2 separate regions of the Homo sapiens genome follow, and region 2 is linked to region 1. Evidence: promoter capture Hi-C in 16 types of primary human blood cells and fetal thymus (Javierre and others, 2016). All regions are on one chromosome and are shown on one strand. The core of a region is centred on a gene start or on the middle of the fragment in contact, and the rest is flanking DNA. Distances in the headings are between cores, read along the strand shown.

Region 1 (7,255 bases), core at 66-2,565:
CAGCAGGGAAGTCCTTTATATAACAGATCTATATTGGTTAACAATGTTTTAGATTTTCTTTCAGAAAAATACATTTCTGCCAATGGAAATAAGATACTGAAATGTACTCACAGCCACGAATGCAACCACATCGGGAGCCTCCTGACCATCTCCTCTTCCTCTGGATCTTGATCTCACTCGTGCACTCATCGCTGCAACTAGAAGATCGTGAACTGAAGACTGCAATAAAAAGGAGTAATTATACTTGACTCTTTCCATGGCCATCTGCTGATTGTAATTTTTTTTAATTTTGTGAGATTTCCATAATAGGTCCTGAGTTAATAATAACTACGCCTGGTTTCCAATCACATCAAATAAATCTATCTGCAAACTGCTTTGTTTCTTCCACAGCCAGCTCGGCAGAGAAGTGATCTTCAAGTCCTAGATCAAAACATGGGGTCTTTCCTAAAGAGACTTAATTTCATAACTAAACTCCATTATGAAGAGATTTTTTAATATACAGCCACCCCAGGTCCCCTCCTCCCCAGGTCCCCACTGAGAACTCCGAAACCTGTCCTCTTTCGGCAGTTTCAGGTGCCTCTGGGACTCAAAGATACCTCAAAAAGTACCCCCCAAGTTTTGCTCCATCTGATCCCTCTCCCCTCCGTGGCCCAACTTCCTCCCTCGCCCCAGCCCTGCCACAACCACAAGGTCATGGCGGCGCCACCACCTGTGAGGCCCTTCCTCCTCCGAGGCCACGGACTGTGCTGCCCGACCCTCCTGAAGCCCACCAGCTCCTCTTCACACTTAAACTCCCATGGAGGAACGATCGGTGGACCCACCCACTGAGTCTCAGTCTCAGGTGAAAGAGTCCCGACAATTGGAATGCAAACGGCACCCTCACAGCTCCGCGGCAGTTCACCTCGTGGGTGAAGGGGCTGATGGGAAGACCCCCAGTGAACACGAGCACTGAGGCAGGCGCTGTCAAGCGCGGGCTGTCCCACCCTTTCCCTGGCCCCCACTGAGGACCCCAGCATCCGTCCTTTATGGACAGTTTCATATGCCTCCAGGACTCAGATAGTGTCCCGCTCCAAAACTCACAGCATCTTGGCTGACCCTCCTCCCCTTCATGGCCCTCCTTCCTCCCCTGTCCCTGCCCCGCCGCATAGCTGCCTGCTAGGAGAAGGATGATGACCTCGAGGCCCTTCCTTCTCTGAGGCCAGGGACCACAGTGCCCGACCCACCAGAAGCCCGCCGGCCCACTCACTCACACCTGTTCTCACTTACACTTGAGTCAGCAGAGAGCCTGGCGAAGAATGAAGGGAAGAGAAGTGGCACCTACCTACTTCTGCCTCCTTGTTTAGACCTCAGCAGTGTCAACCCCACCAGCCAATCCCAAACCTCGGGGGTGTGTCACGTGGGTTGTCTTTCCAGCCCTCTCCCGCCTCCTAGAGGCTCTGTGCCACCTGGAGGAAGGGCCTGCTCGGTGCTGAGAAGGGCTTGTTTCTGGCTTCTGGCCCCTCCTGCAAAATGTTCTGTCCTTCTGGATCTAGGAATGTTCCCAGCTCTGCATTTCACCTGCAAATTTACCCTTTAATTTTTTCTCAGTGCTGCTACCTCAGTGGCCCTTAAGAGGGTATTCAGTCTTCCCAGAGATGCGTGAAAGCTTAGGTTCTCAGAGAGTGCAAAGCCATTTTAAGCATGATAGGAATCCAGAAAAAAATGTAAAGGAGAAGGATGATAAACCCACATACATAAATAAGCCTAAACATTTGCACAAAAATCCAGGCCAGGTGCGGCAGCTCATGCCTGTAATCCTAGAACTTTGGGATGCTGAGGTGGGTGGATTTCTTGAGCCCAGGAGTTCGAGACCATCCTGGGCAACATGGCAAGACCCTGTCTTTACAAAAAATACAAAAATTAGCTGGGCATGGTGGTGCACACCTGTAGTCCCAGCTACTTGAGAGGCTGAGGTGGGAGGATAGCTTGAGCCCAGGAGGTTGAGGTTGCAGTGAGCCAAGATCACACCACTGCACTCCAGCTTGGGCAACAGAGCAAGACCCTGTCTCAAAAAATAAAAAATCCTGTGACCCAGCATTTCTACTTCTAGGACTTTAATGTTAAGGAAACTGTCTTGAATGTTGACAAATATTCCTTGCTTGGCCAAACTTTTAAGTCAGGCTTCTGAAACTTCTCCTCCTAGGCCCATCTGTGCATTTCCTTGTAAAACCCAGTTTTAGCAAAGAGCCCTGCTAAGTCAATGTGGCATGAACCCTCCATCCTCAATATCTGATCATACTTGCTATCGCATGGGGTTCTTCATCTTCCACCATCCCCCAGGTGATGTCTGATTCCCCTTGGCCTGTCTTCAGCAAGAATCCTGCTAGGTGGGTTTAGCCAGAATCCCCCTTACCCCTGATGTTTCCTTTTAGTAATTTTCCACCCACGGACCGCCATACTGCTCCTTCGCTATACATTCCCACTGGCCTGCGCTGTATTCAGTATTGAGCCCAATCTCTCTCCCCCACTGCAAGATCCCATTGCAATGGTCCCTATACCCATCACCACAGTCCTAAATAAGGTTTTCCTTACTGTGCTTTAACAACTACCACTGAATGTTTTTTTTCTTTAACCATGTGAACAAAAATTTGGATACATGGGACTTCCAAAACAGCTTAATTTATAATAGCATGGTCATGGACTTGCTATATAAGTAAATTATGGCACACTTGAAAATGAAATATGGGTGACTACCAAAACCAGTGCTGAATAATATTTCCTGTAATAGTGGTGCTGTTCATTTTAAGTTATTAACTTGAAACATCCAGTTATGTAGCACTGTGTATGTACAATATGATCTCAAAAGAAAAGAGAGGTTCAATAGTGCTACCACACCACCAGCCTTCCTCTCAGACAGTAAGTGTGCTTTGTTCTTGTGCAACCAGCATGTTCTGGGGCTCCAAAGATATATGGTTCTCCAAGGGGAACCCAGCAGATAAAAGGCAGTGCTAGGGGTCATAGGTCTCCTGCACCTGGTGCACGTCAAAGAGCTTCACCATCACCTAGGTGGTCTGATCCTCTGCTGTCAGAGAAGGTGTGGGGGGTTGGGGGTAGGGGGACAGAAGCCCACTGTTACTGCTTTGGGCAAAAGTTAGATGGGTGCCTGCAAGACAGAAAGGAGCTTGCCCTGCACATCCCTGTCCAACCCCTCCTGCCCCCGCTAAACCCCTGGGGGAAAAATATCCTTTCTGTCCGTGCATGCCTGGACCTGGACCGTTCTCAGACTCTGCAGGTTACCCTTAAAGAAGCGCACATTCTTTGAGAGTTAGAAAGATCCCCCATGGCAGAAGTAGAATTGCCAGATCTCCCTCTCCTTCTCTCCCTCTCTCCTACAGATAAGATGTAGAGTCAATACAGAGCCAAGTGTGAAGAATATATAATTCTTCCTTGATATCACCAATCAGGGATAACCACTTTTTATATCTAAGCAGGAGCTGCTCCTACTACTCAGATCTTTATGTAGATTAAATAAAGATTTATTGAGAGACTGAGATCTCACACTCTGCAATCAGTATAAACTGTGGGCTCTAGTCTCAGCCTCCTGTTTCTCCTCAGGTAAAGTGCTTTCATTAGCTCTCAGGTGTTTCCTATTATCACTTGGAAAGGCTATCTGCAGCCTGCTGCCTCCCTGACCTTGGTGCCTGTCGGTTGGCAGCTGCTGTGTTCTCTGCATAGGATCAAGTTTCTCTAGGATGCTGTGAAGGAGTGAGAGGACAGGTAAGGTCCTTTCTGTGTGAGAGCTTAGATCTGAACTGAAAAAGAAATCCCGATTTGCCCAGCACCATGAGCCTTCCCAGAGAACCTCATCCTCAGGCAACATTAGTGCAAAGCAAGCACTCTGATCAACGATGTAGGTGATCCCAAGCCCTTGTTTGTATCATTGTGATGATTATAGATGTCACTTTCATTGTATTCATTTTATGTCACAGGTGATATCTGCTCCTTACAAATAATCCAATCACTAAAAATTGACTAATTCTACTGTTTTCTGCTATTTGATGGGAGGAAACACCACACTACTATTTGAATTTGCACTTTTGATAAATAATACGTTTGAACATTGTTATTCAAGTAATTCATGCTCATAAACAATCCACAAAATCAGAAAGAGGAGAATCAAGAAATAACTCTGGAGTTCCAGCATTCATTAAAAACCTATCTTCTATTTGTCATTTTAGTGCATGTGTTTCCATATATTTATCATTTTAGATGATCATTCATGCTGCAGCAAACATCCTCATGAACCATTTTCAGTCCACTTCCTTAAACATTTCTTCATGAAAAAAATTCCTACATGAAGAAATAGGGGCTTGAGAGTATGTACAACTTGTCTAATGTCACACCCTCTGGCAAGTTATGCCTGGAATTAAATCTGTATCTTTCCGATTCTGGTTTAAGCCTGAATCATAAACATAAACATGTATGCTTCTTCACCTTGTGCTACCCTATGGATCCAGTAGTTCCTTTGAATCCCTCAGCTCAAGGAGAAGCTTAGTAACCCCATGAGCACCATCCATGAGAGGTGATATGGTGTAGGTGCCCACATGTGCAGAATGCAGGACTGGCAGAAGAAACATCATGTGCTAAGTCTTGGAAGCATGCTTGCAAACTGCAGAGGCCACTGGAGCTGGAGACCGAGGCTGTGGGTCAGAGGAGGATCTTTTCTCTGGTGTCCTTTGACCTACTGTATGCCACAATAAGGGCATGAATATAAATATTATGAATATAAATATTTTGTGAGATGATTTTTCTAAACACTGACTGGTAAACATAAAGGCAATTTTCATGATTGCAAAGGAGAGTTCCTGGAAATCTTGACATGGATTGACAAAGTATGTTATTTTAAACTGTTACTCCAACTACCTGTGAACTCCTTCAAATACTACTCATGCCCATTCAGTTGCTGCACACATGCTCATATCTATTCAGATAGCTATTACTTAGCGTCAGCATTTCCGAGTAGTTCACCTGAAGCAACTGGAGAGGAAGGAAGATTCTGTCCTTGACAGCTCCACCATCGGAAGGAGAAGCCCTTGTTTCCCAGTCTCCTTATATAGAAACCACCAGGTTCACCTTTCTGTGCCAACTGAGCCCCATTTCATAGTTGTGCTTGTCACTTCAGTCTTCACTGATGGTGTGCAGGCCTCTCACTTGTGCTAGAAAGCTCATCTGGCTTTGGACTTCTTTCTCTTGGGCAAGCCTCCTCTTATGCATGTATCCCTTCACAGGTAATTAGTGAGGGTACGTTGGTCATGCTGGCCTTTGCTGGTTGTTATGTCTCTACCTGTATACCTTTGCCAAAAATCAGTTGTTTGTATAGGTGTGAGTTTATTTTTGGACTCTCTGTGCTGTGCTAATCTATTTGTTTATCTTTATGCCAATGTCACACTACTGTGACATAGTTTTGTAGTAACTCTTGAAATCCTACTTTGACTAATCTTGGTCTTTTGCATTTCCATATGAATTATGGAATCAGCTTGTCAATTTCTACCCCCCAAAAAACCTTCAGTAATTTTGATTGAGAATGCACCAAATTTATAGATCAATTTGGGGAGAATTGACATCTTAACAATATTGAGTCTTCAGACCCGTGAACAAGATATATCTCTTCATTTATGTAGGTCTTTTTTTTTCTTTTTTTGTGTTTTTTCAATTATGCAGGTCTTAGTTTCTCTCAGAAATATTTTGTAGTTTTCAATGTATAGATTTTTCATATATTTTGTCAGGTTTATCCCTTATGTTTTTCATGTTTTATGATATTGTAAATGGTATTGTTTTTATTTCCATTTTATTGTTTGTTGCTAGTAGACAGAAATACAACTTATTCTTTATATTGAGCTTGTATCCTGCAATTTTGCTAAACTCACTTGTTGGTTTTAGTAGATTTTCATTGGTTTAATTAGATTCTATCATGTTTTCTACGTAAACAATTGTGTTATTTGTGAATAGACGATTTTACTTTATTCCTAATCTGCATGCATTTTACTTACTTTCGTTCCATGACTACACTACCTAGAACCTCCACTACAATGTTGAACACAAGTGGGGAAAGTGGAAATCTCTGTCTTGTTCCTGATCATAGGGCAAAAGTTTTCAACATTCTGCATCTATTAAAATAATCATATTTTTTTTCTTTTTTAGCTGTTAATAAGGTGAATTTTATTGATTCATTTTCAAGTATTAAACCAGCCTGCATTCCTGAAATAAATTCCATTCAGTCATGATGTATTATTCTTTTAATGCATTGCTGGATTTAATTTGTTAAAATATTGTTTAGAATTTTTGCATGTATATTTATGATGGATGTTGATTTATATTTTCCTTTTCTATTAATATCTTTGTCCAATTTTGGAATTAAGAAATTCTGGCCTCATAGAATGAGTAGGGAAGCATTCTTTCCTCCTCAATATTTTGGAAGATTTTGCATAGAATTGGTATTACTTCTTCCTTAAATATTTGGTAGAATACTTCAGTGATGCCATCTAGGCTTGGAGTTTTCTTCTTGGAAACATTTTTAAGCTACAATTTCAATTTCTTTAAAGGGTTATTCAGATACAGAGTTATTCAGCTTATCTATTTCTTCCTGAGTGAGGCTTGGTGGTTTGTGTCTTTCAGATTATTGTCTATTGTATCCTTGCTGATTTTCTGCCAACATGTTCTATCAATTATTGAGAAAGAAATATTGTAATCTCAGACGTAATCGTAGATTCGTGTATTTCTCATCATGTATTTTGTGACTCTGTTATTAGATGCATAAATATTTGGGGTTCTTAGGATTGTCACTAACATAAATGTAAGAATCCGCAACAAAATATTAGCAAATTGAATCTAGCAATAAGAATAATACAGCACAACCATAGGAAGTTTATTCCAGGAATGCAATGCGAATTCAATATTCAATAATCAATCAATTTAATATTTGATATTAACAGTCTAAAGAAGAAAAATCATATGATAATATCAATTGATGCAGAAGAAGTATTTGACAAAATACAGCATCCATTCATGATAAAAACTCTTGGTGAAGTAGAACTAGAAGGAAATTTTCTCAATTTGTAAAGAGATCTGCAAAACACCGACAGCTAACATTGTATTTGATGGTGAAAGACTGAATGCTTTCCTCCAAAGATCAGAAACAAGACAAAGATTTCTATTCTAACTACATCTGTTCAACATCATGCTGGGAGTCTTAGCCAGCATAACAAGGCAAGAAAAA
Region 2 (7,319 bases), core at 3,690-6,189, 550 kb after region 1:
GTCACAGAGGCCTGGGTCCCTATGCTAACCCTCTCGTCCCCGTATCAGCCTGGCAGGTCGCTTCACCTCCTCACTCATAAAACAGAGCCCCGGGGAGTCAGGATGTGCACTAAGCACAGGGCAGTCAAGAGGAATGAGGATGGACAGCCAGAAATCAGGGCCTGACACACAGCTGGGATTGAATCAACTGTAGATATTTATGGGTCTTGCTCCTCCTTCACCAGGCCAGTCAGATCCCTGAGTGGCATAAGCCGAGTGCATTTCAGGTGGGTCCTCCCAGGGGTGGCATCTCATCATGGAGAAGTCACTGTTCTTATTCTGAAAATGAGTATCAAGTGTCTACAGATTAAGGTAAATGAGGGAAGCATTGACTAAAACCTGAGAGGAGCTGGGGCGAATGCCCACACCTTTTTCTTCCTAAGAGGCAATGTGACATTCTTGATACTTCTGACAATGGTTGAAAAATTTTTTTTTTTGAGATGGAGTCTCGTTCTGTCGCCAGGCTGGAGTGCAATAGCATGATCTCGGCTCACTGCAACCTCTGCCTCCCAGGTTCAAGTGATTCTCCTGCCTCAGCCTCTCAAGTATCAGGGATTACAGGTACCCACCATCACAGCCAGCTAATTTTTGTATTTTTAATAGAGACGGGGTTTCGCCATGTTGGCCAGGCTGGTCTCAAACTCCTGACCTCAGGTGATCCACCCTCCTCGGCCTCCCAATGTGCTGGGGTTACAGGCATGAGCCACCGTGCCCGGCCTGGTTGAAACTTTTTGAAAACCCATAACCAATTACCTTCACAGAAACGAGTATCACCATCTGACCCATACATAGTACCTACTATGGCATTACACACTGTTCTAAGTGCTTCACATTTTTTTAAAGAAGTTTTTGGGGTTTTTTGGTTTTTGTTTTTGTTTTTTTGTATTTTGTTTTTAGAGATGGGGTCTTCCTACGTTGACCAGGCTGGTCGTGAACTCCTGGACTCAAGCGATCCTCCCATCTCAGCCTCCCGAAGTCCTAGTACTACAGGCATGAGCCACGGTGCCTGGGCAACATGTGTTAATTCAATCCTCACAATCACCCTATGAGACAGGTACTTGTAATCCTCTGAAGCAGGCAGTACTATTGTCTCCATTTTACAGAGGATAAAACAGAGGCTGAGTAAATGGCTCAAGGTCATACACTTCACATCACAACCCAGGCCTTTTGGCTCTTACCCAGTCAGCTGCTGCTTCTTGGATGAGGGAGACTGGGGTCTTACCCAACCCATCTCCATCCTTTCTAGAAGTAGATAGAGGGAGGCATCAATACTAGACAAGATCCCTCCCTCCTCCTTCATGCAGGCTTTTCTTTGGACCTGCCTTTGCCCACATATTCATTCCCCATTTCCCTACCTCCATGGGCCTGGGACATGCGTGGCTAGGAGGCCACTAGACACAGAATGGCTGCAAGAACTGCTTTCTATAAACACCCTCGGGGAGAACATTTGAACCATATATACGGATCTAGAGTCTAGAAGGGACCGTCTGTCTTTCTCTACTGTCTAGGACTCACAAATCCCACCAGAGGTACTTGAATCAGAATACTACAGGGCCTAGGGTGGGTGACTCTGGGAGCCCAGCTGCCACCTCCCACACATCACAGATGAGAAAGAGAGATTCAGAGCAAACCAGCTTGGTCTCACACCAATCCCCTCCGTGGTCCTAAAATCCAGGTCTTTGGACTTTTGTTTCAACACAATTTCTGCCAGGCTGCACTAACTTACTTCTTTTTGTTACCATAGTCCTTCATGACAGAAAACATCCTCCTCCTAGGATCTTCTAAACCAAGCCTCTTCAAGAAGGCCCACAGACAGACAGAAAGCCAGCCCTCCCACCTGTGCGCAGTAGCAGGCAAGCCTTCTCCTCCATCTGGCCTAGTCCGGACATATATTACAAACAGGCTTCTAAAAGCCACTGCAGTCATAGATGTGAGACAGAAAAAGGAGAACACTCAGGAATCAGCTAGCCAGCAGGTAAAGGACTCCACAATTCAGTTGGAGGAAGGAGAAAGAAAAACAAATACACAATCAATCCTTCAGCCCCCAGAGCACCCTTTCCATGGCTGAGGAGGGCGAGAACATCCAAAAAGCAGGTCACGCCATTGAGCCAATCCCAAGATCCACAACATCGACAGAAGCAAACAAGTCGTTCTCCAAAGTCAGATATGAAAGCAGAAAGCACAAGCATGTATTGTTCACCTCCTCCACCATGGGCCCCTCTCATTGACACACCAAGGCATTTGAAAACCTTCACATCTATCCTTCAAAACAACACCCTTCCTTTTTACAAATGCAAAAACTAAAACTCAAGGAACTGCATCTCTACACTCACTGACTACACAACCACGCTGGTAACAAACACTCCAGGAGGGCTCCACTTTGAAGAGAGTTTGAAATTGTGGGCTTAAAAAGAAACAAGTTATCTTTGAACCGTCTTTCACAGTAAAAACTCAAGGGCAGCTATGACTTCAATCAACATGAGGATAGTAAGAGAAATCAAGTACAAATGTATACTGACTCACTGATCGGTAACAGAGAAGAGGGGTTCTTAGAAAAATGGGGAGGGAGAAGATTAAGAACAAAACTGTACCTGCAGTATGCCTGCTCGTTTTCAAGAAGGAAACCTGTTCTTTTGGCACCAGCCCCACAAGTACCACGTGGCATCCCCTCAAGGGCAGTGAGCCATAGGGGCCAGGGCACACAGATCTGGAAAATCTTGGACATGCATCATTTGGGTGCTAGTGAGCACTAGTCAAGCTGGTGTCGACTAAAAGGGGCCATCTCAGGCCTGCACGCCAGTCTCCTGGGCGTGCAAATTCCTCCGGCCATCAGGAAACACAATGGCTGCCAAGCTGATAGGCCCCGAGGAGACCAGAGGGTGAGGATTTGGAAAGAGGTGGTGTTGGCCCCGGCCTAGGCCAGCCAAGAAAGCCAAGAAAGGTGATTCGCCAGTCACAGAGTAAGCGAGCGGGTGAGGGCTGACAAGCCCTGTGGAGAAAAGCAAAGCAGACTTTCAGAGCAGTCACAGACTGCCATTGCCACCACCACCCGAGTCCTCTGGAGCACCCCCAGCATTCATGTTTTCAAAGAATTTTGCCAGCCCAAAGTGGGTCAGGCACTGAAACCCAAAGGGAAACTCAGCAGACCCCGGCTCCCATGTAGTCAACCTGAAGATAACGCTGACTTTCCGGGGGGATGAGTGGCTTCAGAAACCTGCCCCACGATACTCAGAATTGCAGTTACCCTGAGCCATCTGCTTTCTGAAAAGAACAGGGTTTGAAGGTGGCTGTGAAAGCCACCAAGTTATGTGGGGCACTGCTTTGCCTTCCCCAACAAGTGTGTCAGCCTCAACTCTGGGACTTGCGGGTGATCCAGTGGGGTAGAGGGAGAGCAGTTTCTCGTGCCATGAGCTTCTTCAACAGCCATGACTTCATTCTTTGGCCACGACCCATAGTAAGAAATCCATTCTACATCATAACCCAGCACACCCACACGTGTAAACAGACATATAAATAACTGAAAAATGGTTGTTCTTCGAGTGAAACAATACTTACCTTTACTGCATGTGGTGATACACTGGCATTTCTTATGCTATTTCCTTTTTCTTTTTAATGCTTGTTGAAACCCAGTAAATTGATTTCACAACTCAATAAAGGGTTAGGATATGCAATTTTGAACAATTCCAGCTCTGCCACCTATCAGCTGTGTGACCTGGGGCAAGTTACTTAACCTCTCTGTGCCTCAGTTACCTCATCTCTAAGGAGGGGATAATAATACCTACATCAGTGAGTTGTTCAGCAGATCAAAGAAATATTTGAAAAGTACCTATAAAGCACTTAACAGTAACCCCCTCCAAATTTCCATTGAGGGAAACTGAAGCTCTGAAAGGAAAGCAACTTGCCCAGTGTTGCCCTGCTGGTAAAATGCATCACCCAGCCTGGTACAGTAGCTAAGAGCTGGAGCACTAGAGCAGGACCACACAGGCTCAGATCCCAGCTCTGCCACTTTCTTAGCACGTGGCCTCAGGCCCATGTCCTTAACCATAATGCCCTACCAAGTTTTCTGTGGCATAAAAGAGGATCACGTTCACATTAATTCCTCACTCTACAGAAAACTAAGATGCCCCTGACTTGTCCCGTTCAACTCCAGTTATTCTGGTTTCCCCTGAGGCTGCCAACTCAGATAGCAGGTTGGATCCCCATCCCTTCAGTTATAGGTGCACTGAAAGACAGTGGGCCTTCCTGTGCATCAGCCCCAGTGACGGATCCTGGAGACACCATGGTGAGCAAACCCAACTAGGAAGCTTACAATTCAGTATGGAGGAAGACATTAAAAAAATACTCAAACTCATTATTTCAACAAACATTTATTGAGCACCTGCTAAGTGCCAGGCACTGTGGCAGGCCTGCAGGAATACAGTGGTGAATGAAAGCAGACCATGTCCCTACCCCTCACGGAGCTTACAGTCTAGCGGGGCAGAGAGTCATCCAGCAACCCCCTAATAAAGATATAACTACAAACTGCGATCAGTGCCTTTAGAAAAGGAAAGAATGCCCTAGAATAAGGGTCCCTGGCCCAATCTACAGGGTCAGGCAGGGCTTACTTAAGGATGCTGAAAAGCAAAACGAGCAAGTGGGGAGGTAGGGGAGTGAGAGGCTGCTTGGGAACACTGTGGGAGAGGTGATGAATGCAGTCCCCGACAAGGTGAGTTTGAGGAATTATTTGGGCCATCAGTCAAGTGGAGATGCCGAGTTTGGATACATGAAGCTAAGGGAAGAGCCAGGAGAAAGAGAAGGGCCAGAGAGTTAAGAGGAAAACCAGCAGAGTGTGGTCTCAAGGCAAGGGAAGACAAAGTGTTTTAAGTAGGAGTGGTCAACCACTTCAAGAGGAAAACTAAAAAACCACCTGCAGAATCTGGCAGATGCCGGGGGCTAACACTTACGGGGGTGAGCAAGTGCAGAAGGCAAGTACAGGCAACTCTGCAGGGGTCAGCAGTGAAGGGGAGGGTGATGAGGTGCTGGCCAGAAGCAGGAGGGAGAGAACGTGGGGTCAGCGGAGACAGAAGGGATGCTGGCACAGGCAAAGGTGAATAGAGGATCAAGCAAGGAGGGCAGCAGAAAACCTGCCAGGAGAGAAAAGGTGACTGATGATGTCAGATTCTAGAGCAAGTAGCAGAAACTGGGACCCAGAGCACAGGAGGGAGAAGTGGCCTGAGCAAGAAGGGACTCCTCGTCATCTGTAACACAGGGGAGGGAAATCAGCGTGCAGACTTGGGGGCCACAAGTTATAGGGAGTTCCATTCTTATGGCTTCTGTTTTGTTTTTTGAAGCAGGAGAGAAAGTCTGAAGGTAAAGAACATTTGAAAGAGTCACTTCAGAGGAGAAACGAGTGGATCAAAAAAATATAGTAGAACTGCTAGGCAGGGTGGCCGATGACCCCTCGACTGGTGGCGATGTTCATCTGCTCTGCCATGGGACATTCTCTAACAAAGCTTAGCACGTGCTGGGCTGATGAGTGCTATGAAAAAGCCAGGGGCCCGAGGACACTGGGGTGGACAGGCTCCCCTGGGGAAGTCCTCTTAGAACTGAGGGATCAACACTGGAGGAGACTGCAAGGGGTACGGGATAAATGTTCCTGGTGAAGGAAACAGCAGGGGCAAAGGCCCTGCAGCAGAAAGGAGCGAGGCCCTTTGGAGTAACAGAAAGACCATGGTGACAGGAGCTCAGAAAGACCACTGGTGTTAAGACTATGAGCCAGTGGAGGCCAGATTGGGGAATGGGATGGGAGGGTGCTTGAAGACCATGGTGAGGCTCTCTTGGTCTTTACTTTTAAGAAGAATAGGACACTTCCAAAGGGTAGTGTCAAGTGCCAAGGAAGATCAGGAGGGCTTTTCCCCACACCAGCCCTAGGACTTTGGACTCTGGGAGCCTCAGTTTGCTCATCCAGGAAAGAGAAATTTAAAACCCTCTACTTCACAGGGAATGTTGTCGGAATTAAACCAGACCTTGCATGAAAATATAGTACTCAGTGAAGTGCCTGGCGAAGAGCAGGGGCTCAGCCAGGTCTCATACAACAAATCCTCTGTACTCCATCCCACAAGCCCTGTGACATCTTAGGACCACTCTGCATCTCTTTCCCTGCTGGAACCTAGCACTGTGCCCAGCACACAGTAGGCAGTCAATAAATGCTTGTCGATGAATCATCTCTAAGCTTTAGAGTTACCAAATGCCTGGTCCAGCAACCCAGGGAAAGCAGCCATTTGGGTTTCTGAACTCTATCCTGATGGCTACCACGGACTTCTCCCATGCCCTCACCTGATGTGGCTGTGCTCAGTGCACAGAGGGCCTACAGCCAACATTTCCTCAACAGGAAGCCCTCTGATAGGGCTCCCACAGGTAAGGGATATACCCTGAGATCCTCCGCCATTTCCCAAGAGGGCTAGGTCACAAAGGGTGGCTAGTCTTCAACAGTGCTGCAAGTCACTGGCAGCACACAGGTTCTAAAACAATAATATGTTGAAATGTACTCACCAAGAAAGCCACCGACCTACAAAGAAACCCTTATCGCTGATCTTGCAATGAGCACCAACCTCCCCTTTGCAAGAGCTGAGATCGAAAGATAAAGAAGCTATCAAAAAGCCATCTGCCCACTTAAAATAATATCACAAGTCATGTTAGGAACCACAGACCTGGGGCCAGATACCAAAACAATTGTCTGAACAGGCTGCTTCAATTTCTCCTTAAAACCGCCCATGTATGTTAAAAGAAAAACACCCTCTCCACCCACCTTGGCCCTGCAAGGTTTTGATTTCTCTGTTCTCTGCCTTTCACACTCTTTAAAATGACCAAACTCCTTTACCCAAACTGTCGCATCTTACAGACAGGGTTCCCATGACAGCCGGCGGGGATGACAGCTTGGGAAAGTGATAGAAATGAAGGTAGCTCTGGGGTACTGGACCTGCTCAGTATCTTCATCTGGGTGGTGGCTACACAAGTGCATACATATGTACAAATCCACTGGGCTATACACAGAATATCAGTACACTTTATGTAGGTATACCTCGATAAAGCAAAAAAAAAAAAAAAGGTAAAAGGAAAGCACGACATGCTGGGAACACCAAGAGTGAAATCCAGAATTTGCCCTGAATCATGCCACGCTTTCTAGAGGACCAGTTTAAAAAAAAAAAATAGAAAAAAATAAATGTCCCTAGCATTTCTTCCCTGGCCCTGTCACTCACTAGCTGAGAGGCTTTGAGCAAGCTGGCTCATCTCTCTGAGCT

The links. The method cuts DNA at HindIII sites, captures the fragments that hold promoters and counts their contacts. A CHiCAGO score of 5 or more calls a contact.
Region 2: a contact is called between a fragment that was not itself captured here and the fragment with the promoter of PAGE4 in region 1, in 3 of 17 cell types (M2 macrophages, M0 macrophages and monocytes). The highest score is 6.6, in M2 macrophages.

What each region holds. Positions count from the first base shown.
Region 1 is chrX:49,823,363-49,830,617 of GRCh38, reverse strand. It overlaps PAGE4 (PAGE family member 4), which reads right to left and starts at 1,315. Exons shown (of 5, transcript NM_007003.4): 1 at 1,267-1,315; 2 at 112-219. The coding sequence starts at 189. RefSeq lists an enhancer at 911-1,411. The HindIII fragment of the contact is 15,040 bases long and covers 1-1,647 here.
Region 2 is chrX:49,272,840-49,280,158 of GRCh38, reverse strand. The region is part of intron 1 of PPP1R3F (protein phosphatase 1 regulatory subunit 3F); the gene reads right to left. Among named protein-coding and RNA genes, the nearest start is that of PPP1R3F, 6.7 kb to the right of the region's middle. RefSeq lists an enhancer at 2,452-2,951. The HindIII fragment of the contact is 1,188 bases long and covers 4,346-5,533 here.